2 separate regions of the Homo sapiens genome follow, and region 2 is linked to region 1. The links are contacts of gene promoters, found by promoter capture Hi-C in human tissues and cell types (Jung and others, 2019). All regions are on one chromosome and are shown on one strand. Each heading gives the region's core, a stretch centred on a gene start or on the middle of the fragment in contact. The rest is flanking DNA. Distances are from core to core; before and after follow the strand shown.

What was found. Contacts are between HindIII fragments. The study calls those that stand out against the background at their distance.
Region 2: a fragment that was not itself captured here is called in contact with the fragment with the promoter of GFRA4 in region 1 in 1 of the 25 tissues and cell types used here (dorsolateral prefrontal cortex).

The regions. Positions count from the first base shown.
Region 1 is chr20:3,659,150-3,665,994 of GRCh38, reverse strand. It overlaps GFRA4 (GDNF family receptor alpha 4), which reads left to right and starts at 2,596. Exons shown (of 6, transcript NM_022139.4): 1 at 2,596-2,641; 2 at 4,706-5,051; 3 at 5,131-5,240; 4 at 5,335-5,469; 5 at 5,746-5,837; 6 at 6,006-6,747. The coding sequence starts at 2,596. The coding sequence ends at 6,086. RefSeq lists silencers at 4,971-5,080, 5,171-5,220 and an enhancer at 6,753-6,845. The HindIII fragment of the contact is 25,120 bases long and covers 1-6,845 here.
Region 2 is chr20:4,870,797-4,877,625 of GRCh38, reverse strand. It overlaps SLC23A2 (solute carrier family 23 member 2), which reads left to right. Exons shown (of 17, transcript NM_005116.6): 10 at 2,930-3,050; 11 at 3,534-3,690. Among named protein-coding and RNA genes, the nearest start is that of RASSF2, 51 kb to the right of the region's middle. RefSeq lists an enhancer at 1,762-1,911. The HindIII fragment of the contact is 3,701 bases long and covers 3,706-6,829 here.

The DNA of each region.
Region 1 (6,845 bases), core at 1,347-3,846:
GCTGAGCAAAATAAGGCTGAGACCTACTGGGCTGCGTTTCCAGACAGTTACAGCATTCTGCGTCACAGGATGAGATAGGAGATACAGGTCATAAAGACCTTGCTGATAAAATAGTTTGCAGTAGGCCAGGCGCGGTAGCTCACGCCTGTAATCCCAGCACTTTGGGAGGCTGAGGTGGGCGGATCACCTGAGGTCAGAAGTTCGAGACCAGCCTGGCCAACAAGGTGAAACCTCATCTCTACTAAAAATACAAAAACTAGCCAGGCATGGTGGTGTGTGCCTGTAATCCCAGCTACTTGGGAGGCTGAGGCAGGAGAATCGCTTGAACCCAGGAGGTGGAGGTTGCAGTGAGCTGAGATCGTGTCACTGCACTCCAGCCTGGAGCGAGACTCCGTCTCAAAAAACAAAACAAACAAAAAAATCAGCTTGCAATATAGAAGCTGGCTAAAACCCACCCAAACCAAGATGGTGATGAGAGTGACCTCTGGTCGTCCCCACTGCTACACTCCCACCAGCGCCATGACAGGTTACAGATGCCATGGCAGTATCAGGAAGTTACCATATATGGTCTAAAAAGGGGAGACATGAACAATCCACCCCTGTTTAGCAGATCATCCAGAAACAACCATAAAAATGGGCAACCAGCAGCCCTCAGGGCTGCGCTCTCTATGGAGTAGCCATTCTTTTATTCTTTTACTTTCCTAATAAATGTGCTTTCACTTTATGGACTCGTCTCAAATTCTTTCTTGCACGAGATCCAAGAACCCTCTCCTGGGGTCTGAATCTGGACCCCTTTCCGGTAACAGATGTCGTAGAGTGAAGCACAACCACTGCAGGGGCATCTTGGTTTACATTTTGCTTCAGCGGCCATGGTTAGCACAGCGGAAAGCACATCACAGTCTTCTGATTCATTAAAAAAATTAGGAAATGGACCACCACAAACCACAGACAGATGTACTGAGACAGGATAGGTAGTCAAGAAAGTGACCATGTTCTAGGCGCGCAGCAGCAACTGTGGTGACCGTACAGTCAACAAGCCTCAGCACTGGCATTGCAATTGAGCTCATTCAAGCAAAGCTATCTTCAGCAGGGACTTCTCCCTCTAGGCAGCAAGCGCATTTTTATTTTACCTGTCCTCAAACTGATCCTTTGCTCCTTATAATAGTAAGGAACACACCCCTGTGTGGAGATTTAAGATGCTAATGAGGCCAAGCGCAGTTGCTCACGTCTGTAATTCCAGCACTTTGGGAGGCAGAGGTGGGCGGGTCACTTGAGGTTAGAAGTTCGAGACCAGCCTGGCCAACATGGTGAAACCTTGTCTCTACTAAAAATACAAAAATTAGCCGGGCATGGTGGCGGGCGTCTGTAATCCCAGCTACCTGGGAGGCTGAGGCAGAAGAATCGCTTGAACCTGGGAGGCGGAGGTTGCAGTGAGCCAAGATCGTGCCACTGCACTCCAGCCTGAGGGAGAGAGAGAGCAAGACATCGTTTTTGTTTGTTTGTTTGTTTGTTTGTTTGTTTTTTAAAAAAAAGTCAAGACAAATCATAGTGGGGGCTTTTCTGGTCACTTTTTAAATCTTAGTGTTGAGACTTTATTTGAGACAGGGCCTTACTCTGTTGCCCAGGTTGGATGAGATTTTTAACCTCAATATTTACTTATAGAATAACTTTTTGGTTAGTCAAAACAATGCTGTGTCTCATTCTGATCAGAATAAAACATCAGACAACTCAAGAGAAACATTCTGCAAAATAACTGGCCAGGATTCTTCAAAAGTGTCAAGGGTAAAGATAAGGAAAGATGAAGGAACTCCCAGATTGAGGAGAATAAGGAGACAACTGTGATGTGGGATCCTAGAATGGATCTTGGAACAGAAAAAGGACATTAGTGGAAAAATGAGAAATGCAAAACAGTCTACAGTTTCGTTAACAGGATTGTACCAAGGTTAGTTTCCTAGCTGTAATGATTGGACTATGATTAAGTAAGATGGACCATCAGGGGAAGCTGGGTGAAGGGTGTAAGGAAAATGCTTACATTTTCCAACTTTTCTGCAAGTCTAAAATTAGTCAACAATAAGAAGTTTAAAATAGGCCAGGCATGGTGGCTCACACCTGTCATCCTAGCACTTTGAGAGGCCGAGGTGGGAGGATGGTTTGAGCCCAGGAGTTCAAGACCAGCCTGCGCAATAGAGCGAGACCCCAACTCTATTCAAAAAAATTTTTTTAAGTTTAAAATAGAATTATATAAAAAAGGAAAAGAAAAATGCTGTTTCATAGCGTTCCTAGTTTAGCATGGGAGAGACCAGGTCTCCCTGGGTGGTTGTCTGTGTGTTGCTGGGTGTGCGTGGCAGGGCTAGTGTGTTGGGGTCCGTCTAGGCACATTCAGGCGCCGAATCCCGTGGCTCCCAGGTTTACCTGACGGTGCAGCCTGGGGTGGAGACTTAATGAGGGCGGGGAGTTGCTGCAGCAAAGGCTCCTCCCAGGGGTATCAGCGCAGACAGCTGGGTTTTCACTGTGCTCCTGCTCCAGAGGCACTAGGAAGGGGGCGCCTATCAGACTAGGGCTCTGCCAGCCATCCTTCTCTGTTGAAGGTCCAGCATGGTCCGCTGCCTGGGGCCTGCGCTGCTGCTGCTGCTGTTACTGGGTGAGCGCCCCTCTCTTCCCCTGGACCCCGAACCCTGGCCTCTCTGTCCCTGCTCCTCAGTGACAAGGTGGGAGGGCAAGATATTCCAGGAAAAGCTGAACCACAGGAAGGGTTGCCAGTGAGAGGCCTGTGCGCACGGCTTGGGGACCCCTGGCAATTGACCCCACTATGTGCTGAGCACCTCACCTCCCAGCCCCGTCAAGCCACCACCGCCATCCCCCTCCCGAGTCCAGCCTTGGCACCCGTGCCCCAGGAACTTTTGCCTATTGTCTGCCATCTCCCAACTCTCTCACCCTCCCCTCAGCCCCAGCCCTCCTACCCATCACACAGATTCCTTGGTGAATCTTCGGTGTTGTTCATCTGTTGTTCCACCTTCTTGGACTGCTCCGTCCCTGCATGGATGTCGCGGAGGGAGGGGTCACTTTACCGAGTGTAGTGTGGAAAGTGGAATCTGGTAAAGGTTTAAGGTGGAGGAGATCTTGCAGCTGAGATGAGCTGCTGTGAGGGTGGAGACTGGGTAAGGGTGTTCTGGGCAAGGGTGACAGGTAAGCAACAGGCAGAGGTGGGTTCAAACCCTTAGGCAACATCAGGTGCTGGTGTGTGCAGCTGAGACCTGAGGATGTGCCTGGCAAGGCTGTGAGAGGAAAGCAAAGTGTGCCCTTTGGGGAGGGGAGGAAGGGAGGACTCACCCCGCTGCCATCTATCCCCTCCACTCAGGGACCATTCTAAGCCCTCGAGCTATGTTCATCCTTCCTGCAGAGGCAGGTGCTGAAGTCACAGCAGGAATCACTCTCACCACGCGGTCCAATCCACAGCCTGAAAGACACAGCCATTGCCAGAGAGGCACCCTGCTCCCAGCCCTGGGGGGGGGATACCACCCCGTAGCCCCTGTGCACAAACACACAGGGAGATGGATGAGGGGCCAGGCTGTGCACGTCCACTCAGGCTGGGCACCAGAAAGGCTTCTAGTCTGAATGAGATGCTCCAGACTGGAGAACTTGTGGAGGCTGGGGGGGATTCGATTAGCCTGGTTTTTGTGACTCAAATCCTGGGAAGGGGCTGCCAAGTCCCAACTTCCAGTTATCCTGGCTCTATTTAGACACAGCCTGTGGGCATGTGGGCAGAGCTCACCCTCTGTCTACCCAACCCCTGGTGTGTGACTGGGGTGCCAGGCACCTTCTCTGTCTCCAGCAGGGTGTCACCTATCATGGGGCCTGGTCACTAAAACCACTGATGAACCCTTGGGTCCTGTGGCTCAGGACAAAGCCCGGCGGTGTGTCGTCAGGGACTTCTCTGAATCCACACCCTGGCAGCCAGGACTCAGTGGGTTCTTCAGTGGCCAGAGCTCTTGCATGAATCCGCTCTCCCCTGGCTGATGAAGGGTGGAGGGGCTGGAGGAAGCCAGTGCAGATGGGGCAGGATGACCTCGACTCAAGGGAGCATCAGGAAGGGCTGGAGAGGGGAGACACCCATGCAGGGGGCAGGAGGAGGAGCAGGAGGTCAGGAAGGAGGGAGAAACAGAAATCAATAGACCCACCCAAAGGGTCTCCATGGTGGAGGATAAGCGGCGAGGTGGAGGGGGTAGAGGAGGAAAGGTATGGCGTCACAGCCTGTCATTAAGAGACTAGGAGCAGCCACTGTCTTCTATGCCATCTCTGGTTTTAAAGTCTCCATTGGCCAGATCCCCAGAAAGCCTCATTGTTCCCCCGTCAGGTAGTGCCATTGAGTGTAGGAGGAGCCCCTGGACCCGTCTTTGGACGTGTGTGGCCGTTCTGGAGAAATGGTGGCGATGCTTGGGAAGGAGGGGCTTCAGCTTTTGGGGAAGGCCTGGCTCAGCCTCCATGCTCCCTCTCCATCCCTGACGTGTTGCAGAGCCCTCCAGAGCCCGCCGCTGCCCATCCCCACGACGGAGAGCCGATCAGTGCCAGTCGGCCCCGCCTTTGGGCCACACTCTATGCTTTCTCGGGTTTTCAGTGTCCCCCACCTTCCAGGGGCGTGGATGGGCTGGGTGAAGTGTGCATGCGGGGCGCACTGAGACCTGCAGCCTCCCCGCGCCTTTCCCAGGGTCGGCGAGCTCGGTCGGAGGGAACCGATGTGTGGACGCGGCCGAAGCCTGCACGGCGGACGCGCGGTGCCAGCGTTTGCGCTCCGAGTATGTGGCGCAGTGCCTGGGCCGGGCTGCGCAGGGGGGCTGTCCCCGCGCCCGCTGCCGCCGGGCCCTGCGCCGCTTCTTCGCCCGCGGGCCGCCCGCGCTCACCCACGCACTGCTCTTCTGCCCGTGCGCGGGCCCCGCGTGCGCCGAGCGTCGGCGCCAGACCTTCGTGCCCTCCTGCGCCTTTTCGGGGCCCGGCCCCGCGCCGCCCTCCTGCCTTGAGCCCTTAAACTTCTGCGAGCGCAGCCGGGTCTGCAGGTGCGCGCGGGCGGCGGCGGGGCCGTGGCGAGGGTGGGGACGGGGCCTCTCTCCGGCTCACCGCCCTCCCGCCGCGCAGGCCTCGCCTCCTGGCCTTTCAGGTCTCGTGCACCCCAGCGCCCAGCGCCCCCGACGGCTGCCTGCTGGACCAGGGCGCCCGCTGCCTGCGCGCCTACGCGGGCCTCGTGGGTACGCGCGGCCGGGATCCGGGCGAGGGCGGGGGTTCTCCAGGGGATATCTCCGCCCGGGTGGGCCGATGACTTCGCCCTCAGGGTCCCCGCAGGCACCGCCGTCACCCCTAACTACGTGGACAACGTGAGCGCGCGCGTGGCGCCCTGGTGCGACTGCGGAGCCAGCGGGAACCGGCGTGAGGACTGCGAAGCCTTCCGGGGGCTCTTTACCAGGAACCGCTGCTTGGGTGAGGGGCCCGGGGGGGAGTGGAGGGGGAGTGGGGGCGGCGCTTACTGCCCCCTCCCAAGCCGCCTGGCTGGGAGCCATTTTAGAGGGGAGAATGGAAGACTGTACAGTTGAGTCACTCTGTCACAGCTGTGCTTATTATTTTGTTATTCCTCACCACACACCTTCTGTCCAAGGAGCCAGTCTTTGCAGCAGGGGGTCTCTCACTTTGTCCCCTGTGCTGAGCCCTGTGCTAGGGTTTCCCAGCTAAGTCCACCCTGGACCCCTCCCTCCATAGATGGTGCCATTCAGGCCTTTGCCAGCGGGTGGCCCCCAGTCCTGCTGGACCAGCTGAACCCCCAGGGAGACCCGGAGCACAGCCTCCTGCAGGTAGGTGCAGGGAGGGGAGGGTGAGCTGGCACCTCCCCCACTGTCACCTTCACACCCTTCCGTCCCTGGTGGGCCTGGGTGGAGGCATGAAGGGCCTGGGGTGGGGGTGCAGGCAGAGGGCAGAGACAGGCTTTTGCCTCAAGTCTGCACTTGGCTCCCACCCCCAAGGTGTCCTCCACAGGCAGGGCCCTGGAGAGACGCTCCCTGCTCTCCATACTTCCTGTCCTGGCTCTCCCGGCCCTGCTCTGATTAGGACAGCGACCTCGGATAGCACAGCCAGCTACTCCACCCTGCCTGCCTGGGCCGCCTCTGTGGCCTACTGGCCCCTTGAGAAGGGGCTGGCTTACCCCCCAAGCCGGCCCTGGTGCTTTCACTCCGCTGCCCTTTGTAGGTTTGGACACCCTGTGTGCCGTCCCCTGGGGCAAGGGATGTAGGCTGGGGCCTGACTGTAAAGCCCCCGTCTCCCTGTCAGGAGGCATCTTGGTTGTAAGTCCCTTTATTCACAGACCTTGAGACCACTGGGGTCTCCCACAAGGTGGGGTCAGGAGAGGGTCACTTTTGTAGCTGAGACCTCTCTGGAGACCCAGATCCCCTAGAGCAGGTCAGAGACCATCCAGAATCCCAGAATTCTAGGAAATTGTATCAGCCTCCCAAGCATATAACCCCCTAAGGAATCCATCGGACAAGACCCCGTCTAACACTGCATCCTCCCAACTGGGCATTACCCACCATTGTAGCCACCTGTGCGCCATGACCATGCTGGCAGAGTCTTTCCTGTTCCCCATATGCTGCTTGAGGGGCCCCACCCTGTGCCCTGCCTGGCATTGGCCCTGTGGCCATCTTCCCCCTGGTTTCCTGCAGCTGTAGGAATAACATACAGTGCTTATTAAATCTGTGTGCTGAGACTGACCTTGCTTTTATGTGGTCTGTGTCCTGGGAGCCTGGAGACCAGGGTCTACCACTGGGTGTATCCCTGCTGGCCTGTGTGACCTCCAGTGGCCTCAGAAC
Region 2 (6,829 bases), core at 4,307-6,806, 1.2 Mb before region 1:
AGAAATCTAAAGCAAAATAATAGTCCCCTCCTACTCCATCTCTCAAAAAAATCTCATGATTGTTAACTAGTAAAAAATTTTGTTTTTATCCTTACATATTTTTATATTTTTATGCAAATAAGTACAAACTAGTATATATACATAATTTTATTCATTTTTACCCCAATAATTTGTTGGGTTTACTTCTCTGAGACAGCATGTTTAGATGATCTCTTTCTTTCTAAAGCTGCACAGTGTTTAGTAATGTAGTCTATAATGTATTCAGCCATTTCTCAGCTGATGCTCATGCATGTAGCTTAAATTTTTGCTGCTACCAAAAAAAATGCTGAAATATATACCTCAACGTGAAAAGACTGAGTATTAGAAGCAATGATGATACAGTTTTTCAATTAAAGCTGTTTATGTTGCTTCTGATGTCATACAGTATGGGAATTTTTATTTATTTATTTATTTATTTATATTTTATTATACTTTAAGTTCTAGGGTACATGTGCACAACATGCAGGTTTGTTACATATGTATACATGTGCCATGTTGGTGTGCTGCACCCATTAACTCGTCATTTACATTAGGTATATCTCCTAATGCTATCCCTCCCCCGTCCCCTGGTATGTCCATAAAACAGAATGCTAAGCAGTCACTAAGGTGCTGCTGCAAATCTCTGTCTGATGAGGCGGAAAAGCAAATAGATACTGAGGCAGGTCAGGAAGCTGCGTAAAGCATGATTCCAGTTTGGCTTAGATAATAACCTGTTCATGTCTGGGGACAAGGAAGATGACAATCTGTCTTCCTCCAGCACCCAGCAAATATCCAGGGAGTGAAAACTGTTCAGAACAGATAGACCACGATATTACATGGTTTTATCACTCAAGGGGGATTATGGATGATCTTCAGGGTTTTATCTTTTTCTTTCTGCTTATCTGTCTTTTAAATTTTTTGTACAATTTAGTATGTATTACTTGCGTAACATTTTAAAGTAAAAGTTAGCAAAGGTAAACATGAGGTGGGAAGCACCCAGTGGAGTAGACAGCAGCCCATCCTGAGAGCTGGGGCTAGAACGCTTCATCCCTTTGCTCAGTTAAGATGTGTGGACATGGGCGGGTCTGCACCTCTAAGCTGCTGCCTCTCTGTCACAGGGTGCCTGCCCCCAGGTGTATTTGAGAATAAAAATAAACTCGAAGTAGAGAGGTTTTAGAGCAGAAAGAAACAGTCATGTTCATCTGCTACCTAATCTGCTTTCTAAATTTGAGTTGCCAGATTTGGGCCTAAGATCTGGGTGTCCCTCCTCAAATTCTGTGTGGTCTCAGTCCCCTCTTAAATGTGCAGGTGTGTTGCCTGAAATAATGATGACAAAACTAGCAGGCCTGGGGCATCTTTGGATCTCCTAATATTCACTCTGAAACAAATAAGTAGCATTTATTTTTTCCAGACATGAAAATTGCATGTAGGTCTAAGTTTAAAATATTCCAGTTTTAGTATCCCTTGTTACCATATTGTTTTTTGTTAAACTTCACTATCCCAGAGGAATTGAAATAACGTGGGCACTGTGTGTGTTTTCGACCTTGAACTGGTACTGGCAGAGACCCCTGATGGATCACCAGTTCACCGAAGCGCCTGAGTAGGCAGGGAGACCCGTGGAGCAACACACGCATGTTCTCCAGCCGGGCTGCCATCCACACCTCATTAGGAATGTGACAGTGGAGTCACACTTGACCGGCTGTCGATGGGGCTAATGATTCCATCTCAACAATTGGAACTGTGCCCAGGAACAATTAAGCTTAGCTTTGACTGAGAACCTACTCTTCCTGCCAGCTCTACCTCAGGTTGTAAGTGAAAGAGCGAGACCGCGTGGAGGCTTAGACGCATTGTTGGGCACGAGTTTTGTTTCGGTGATGAGTAAAAATCCACCTGGGGGATGGGAAGTGGCCCCACACCTGCCAGCCCCGTGGGACACCAGACCGATGTCATGGACTGGTGTGTCAGGAAGTGCCATGGTCCTGCCGTGGAGGGGTCAGCACCTGCCTCCCATAGCACTTAGTGCAGTTCAGTCAGGACCGTGAGGCTCAAGGAGAGGGACTTACGCAGCCCAGCCTCCTTGCCCTGTGACCAGGGTGGCAAAAGGAAAGAGTTCAGTTCAAGCCATAGAGCTAGATTCCTGGTCCCCAGTGCTACAACCCTAGCCGTGTGATCTTGGACCTCTGGCTTTGTCTCTGTGAAAAGGAGACCATCTTAGAAGCCACCCCGTAAGGTTGAGATGCTGCACAGGAAGACATTAGTGTAATGTCTGGCACACAGAAGCCTCCCAGGAATGTTATTAATACTGAATTCTACTGTATCTACTTTTCTTGAGCAGTGAAGCTTACTTTTTGCTCTTTTAAAAGTAATTTATGCGTGCTGTAAGTAGATTGGAAAATACAGAAAAGTGGGAAAACCAGTTGCAAATCATGTAACTACTCAAAGCGAATCCCTGGGAGAATTTTGGATCATGTCCTTCTTACCTGTTTGTGTGTACGTGCAGTAGTTTCTTGGTTTGCTTTGTAGTTAATTCATAGTTATAATCTTACAGTTTATGTTGTATCTGGCATCCTTTCCCTTTACATAGAGTAAGCGTTTCCCATCAATGTGTACATTCTTTGGGTTTTCTTATTCTATTTAGGAAAAGCTGTCCTAAGGCATTTACATCAGAATTTCATTTCAGTATCAAGAAATGCTAGGCAAATTAGTTGTAACATCTTCCCCCACAGTAGTATTTCCAAAAGATGTACATTCCAATAGATATACTATTTCTCAAATGGTAGTTCAGAGGACTAGCAGCTTTCTAGGTAAATGAATTGAACACTATGTCAATTTTGCCATAGAAGCTTCGAGTGTTATTTTATAACAGAGACATAACAGCTTTTGACCTAGTTTGTTTTCTTTCTCTCCTCAGGACAATATTCCTAGTATTACTGTTTTCTCAATACGCCAGAAATGTTAAATTTCCTCTCCCGATTTATAAATCCAAGAAAGGATGGACTGCGTACAAGTTACAGCTGTTCAAAATGTTCCCTGTGAGTAGCTGACTTCTTCCCCTGCTGACATTTTTGCCCTTGGTTAATATGTAAGATGATTAAGTGAAGGGAGGGTTTTAAGCAGGCCCTCCTTGGGGGATCATATCTGTGCAGTGAGACCAGGCTACTAATGACCACTCAGATCATCATAGACTTAAACATTCTGATTCTGAAATGGGAGCACATCCTTTTAGCAGTGCCGAAGGAAGGGGACACTGTCCTTGGGACTGAGTAAGATTTGACTCCACGTGGCCTCTGCAGGCACGATGTCCATTCTTGTTTTACCAGCCAGACTTTGGAATGGGTAAGATAAGTTCACCTGAATGAAACTGCTCTCTCAGTGAGAGTCCATTCAAGGAAGGTCTGCAAAGTACTGACTGTGGTGGGCTCTGGGGTGTGATATTCCGACCGCGGGAAGACGTGTTTTTTGCCAACACCTGTGAGCCCTGCTGGCCTGACAGAGCTTCCCCTTGACCACTCCAGATCATCCTGGCCATCCTGGTATCCTGGCTGCTCTGCTTCATCTTCACGGTGACAGATGTCTTCCCTCCCGACAGCACAAAGTATGGCTTCTATGCTCGCACAGATGCCAGGCAAGGCGTGCTTCTGGTAGCCCCGTGGTTTAAGGTTCCATACCCATGTAAGTATTCTGATGGCTAGAGGGGTCAAGAGCCCACGAGGGCCCAACTGAGAGGGGTGGGAATTTGGCAGAACAGCCGTCTTTGTCCCAGACTGTCTCCTGAAGGCCTTGCCATTCTGGTCAGGAGAGGATTAGACAGCAAGTAAGGGAGGCCCTGTCCCCAGAGGGCAGAAACCAACACACAGAGACTGACCGGCTCCCTTCTCACATTAGCGAGCTGTCTCTTTTGGATCTGCTAGGATGAAATCCTGGACAAGGGGTCTCTTGCCAGGTTTAAGCTCTGGTGGCCAGGATTTGAGGGCAGCTGCTTAGATAGGCAAGTATAGAGCTGCTTGGTCCCAGAGCTGCCAAAGTGGAAAGATGTGAGTGGGAACAGCCTGGGGATTAGCAAGCAACCTGCTCAAGCATGATGGAATTTATATAATCTCTTAATGGGCAGCCATAATCTTTTAAATTTGGCCACAGCTGTAGAGGTAAGTTGATAGTCACTAATGGCCAAAAGCTGCATCTTAATTTGAGTGTTGTGTAACTGTTGGGGGTGTGAATACATTCCCTAGCTGGGGTGTCACCTGGACTCGCAGCTGGCCCCGTGTAGGTGATCCCAGTGGTTGTTACACACTTGGTTCCATTGTGAAGACTCTAGTCCCGGCGTCTGGGTTTTTATTAGAATTGGAGCCTGAGCTTAGTCAGGTTCAGCCCACTTCTTTCCCTGTGTAACCATCTTATTTTCATTTTTTATAATGACAAGGAGAAAAAGAGAGAAGCCAAGAATTTTAAGGTTGGGTTAAAGATGACTGCTCTGAGCATGTTGAATGATGAGTGTTGGCTGTTCTTTTTGTTCTCAATACACTTAGGAAAGCTTTAAAAAGTTTCGTCTTTCAGGCCGGGCGCGGCGGGACATGCCTGTAACCCCAGCACTTTGGGGAGGCCGAGGCAGGAGGATCACCCGAGGTCAGGAGTTCAAGACCAGCCTGGCCAACATGGTGAAACCCCATCTCTACAAAAATACAAAAATGAGCCAGGCCTGATGACGGGTGTCTGTAATTCCAGCTACTCGGGAGGCTGAGGCAGGAGAATCGCTTGGATCTGGGAGGCGGAGGTTGCAGTGAGTCGAGATTGCGCCACTGCACTTCAGCCTGGGAGACAGAGCAAGACTGTCTCAAAAAAAAAAGTTTCATCTTTCTAAAATAACTTTCTCATCAGATTGTATGGTCTAAGTGTGCATTTATACAGACCTATTCTTTTTCCAAGAAAGAATGTGCATGGTTCATAAACATACCTGTAGTCTGAGATAAAATGAAATTACAATTAGTTGGTGAGGCAGTCAGGGTGAGGGCGAGGCGGGGGTGGCAGGTAGGTAGAAGCCCCCACAGCGTATACAAGGTGGTCTTCTGCTTGTGCAGGCAACTCCCAAGGTGGGCGCCAGTAGGGGCACAAGCTGGGCTGTCCAGGAGAGGCAGCTGTACAGGTGCTGGGGCCAGAGGGAGTTCACTAGGACCCATGGGGCCACACACGAGAAGGCGAAACTTAGTAGACAGAGCGCCTGAGGTTGTGCTGGCCGTGAGCGAGCACGTAGGGCTCCTGGCCTGCCGAGGGCTGGTGGGGTACCAGAGCTCCATAGCTAGAAAGCCACCTCCAGGGATATAGTCGTACTACTGTATACATATGTAGTACTCTCCAGTGCTTTGTCTCAAGCCAGAGAGGGGCTTTTGAATACCTGAGCAGTGCTTTTCAGTCTTTAGTACACTAGGCATGGTCTGGACTGATTGTTAATATAATACAGATTTCTGGTGCAAAATGTCAACAGTGCTGAGGTTGAAAAACCCTGCTGTCAAGTAACAAACTAAATGAAAGTTTCTTGGTAAAAGGAGATATGAAATAACAGATTCAAGAGAGAAGGCTGGAAGCCAACAAGGTCTTTAAGAAAAAAAAATATAGATATAGATATATAGATATATATCTGAAGGAAAAAGGATCAAAATAAGAATCCCCCTTCAAAATCAAGACACTAAACTTGAATGCTACAACCAGAATTCTTGAAACCAGAATGCTACAACAATAACAAGATAACAGTATAAAAGATAATTGAGAAAAAGCAAAATGTTCCTTGGTGAGGAAGGCCTCTGAATGAGGAAAATCCATTCCAAATTAACCTGGAGCTGATACGTTGAGCAGGCCTCTTGCTGGTGGCATAGGGTGTGTCGAGCCCCATCCATCAACCTGCGTACCTTGCACCCCTGACCAAGGGCCGCCTCTGCATCCCCTGGCTGCTCCCACAGAATGAACAAGCCTGAGGCAGGAGCAATTCTGCCCTTAACCGCACTCCAGGCTTATTCTGCACGTCTGACTTTGTATCCTTTCTCTTCCCAATCCAGTGGTTGCTCTAGGCTACCTACAACACAGGCCAAACCCCTCTAGGTGGCTTAGATGGCTTTTGGAACACTTCCAGAACTTGCCTCCTGCCCTGTGCCCTGCATGAGAGCTCTGCGTTCACCAGAACACCCTCAAACCCCACCCTCCAGACCCTCCCGATCCCTGGAGGGGCACCTCCGTTCCCACCTCCTCCTCAGATCCTTCCCTGGCCAGGGCCCGACTTCGCCTTTTCCTGACCACCTCACTGGTGCTTCTTGTGACCCAGCTCAGCTTGCCTCCATTTGAAGTTGAGCAATTTCCCTCTCCCTGGATCTTTTGGAGTGTCCTGTGTCCCCAGCTACGTTGTTGGCTCCTGCATGAGAGACCATGTTTTAGCCATCGTTCTTTTCCCACTGTGCTTTCTGCTCAGTGAGTGTATTATAACTAATGCTTCAACGGAAGAAGGGCTACTCCTTTATCAAAGGAGTCTATTCATTCTCACACGAAAGAGACCCATGCTATTTTTGTTAAGTAAGACCTATGGCTTTCAAGTCCAAATAAATATACTTGTGAAGAAAAAAGTATCTAATGAGGGATTAAGTAAATGCGGAACTTAAAATGAAGTTTCAGTGGGGCCTCACTTTGCTTTCTGAAATGAAACTATTTAATTTCCCATAACATGGTTTATGATATAAAAATAAGGTTCTGGTATTATAGTAGAGAAGGACTGTCCATACCTTATGGATGCTTTACTGTTGGGATTTAAGTTTAGCTGGTGATTTCTCAC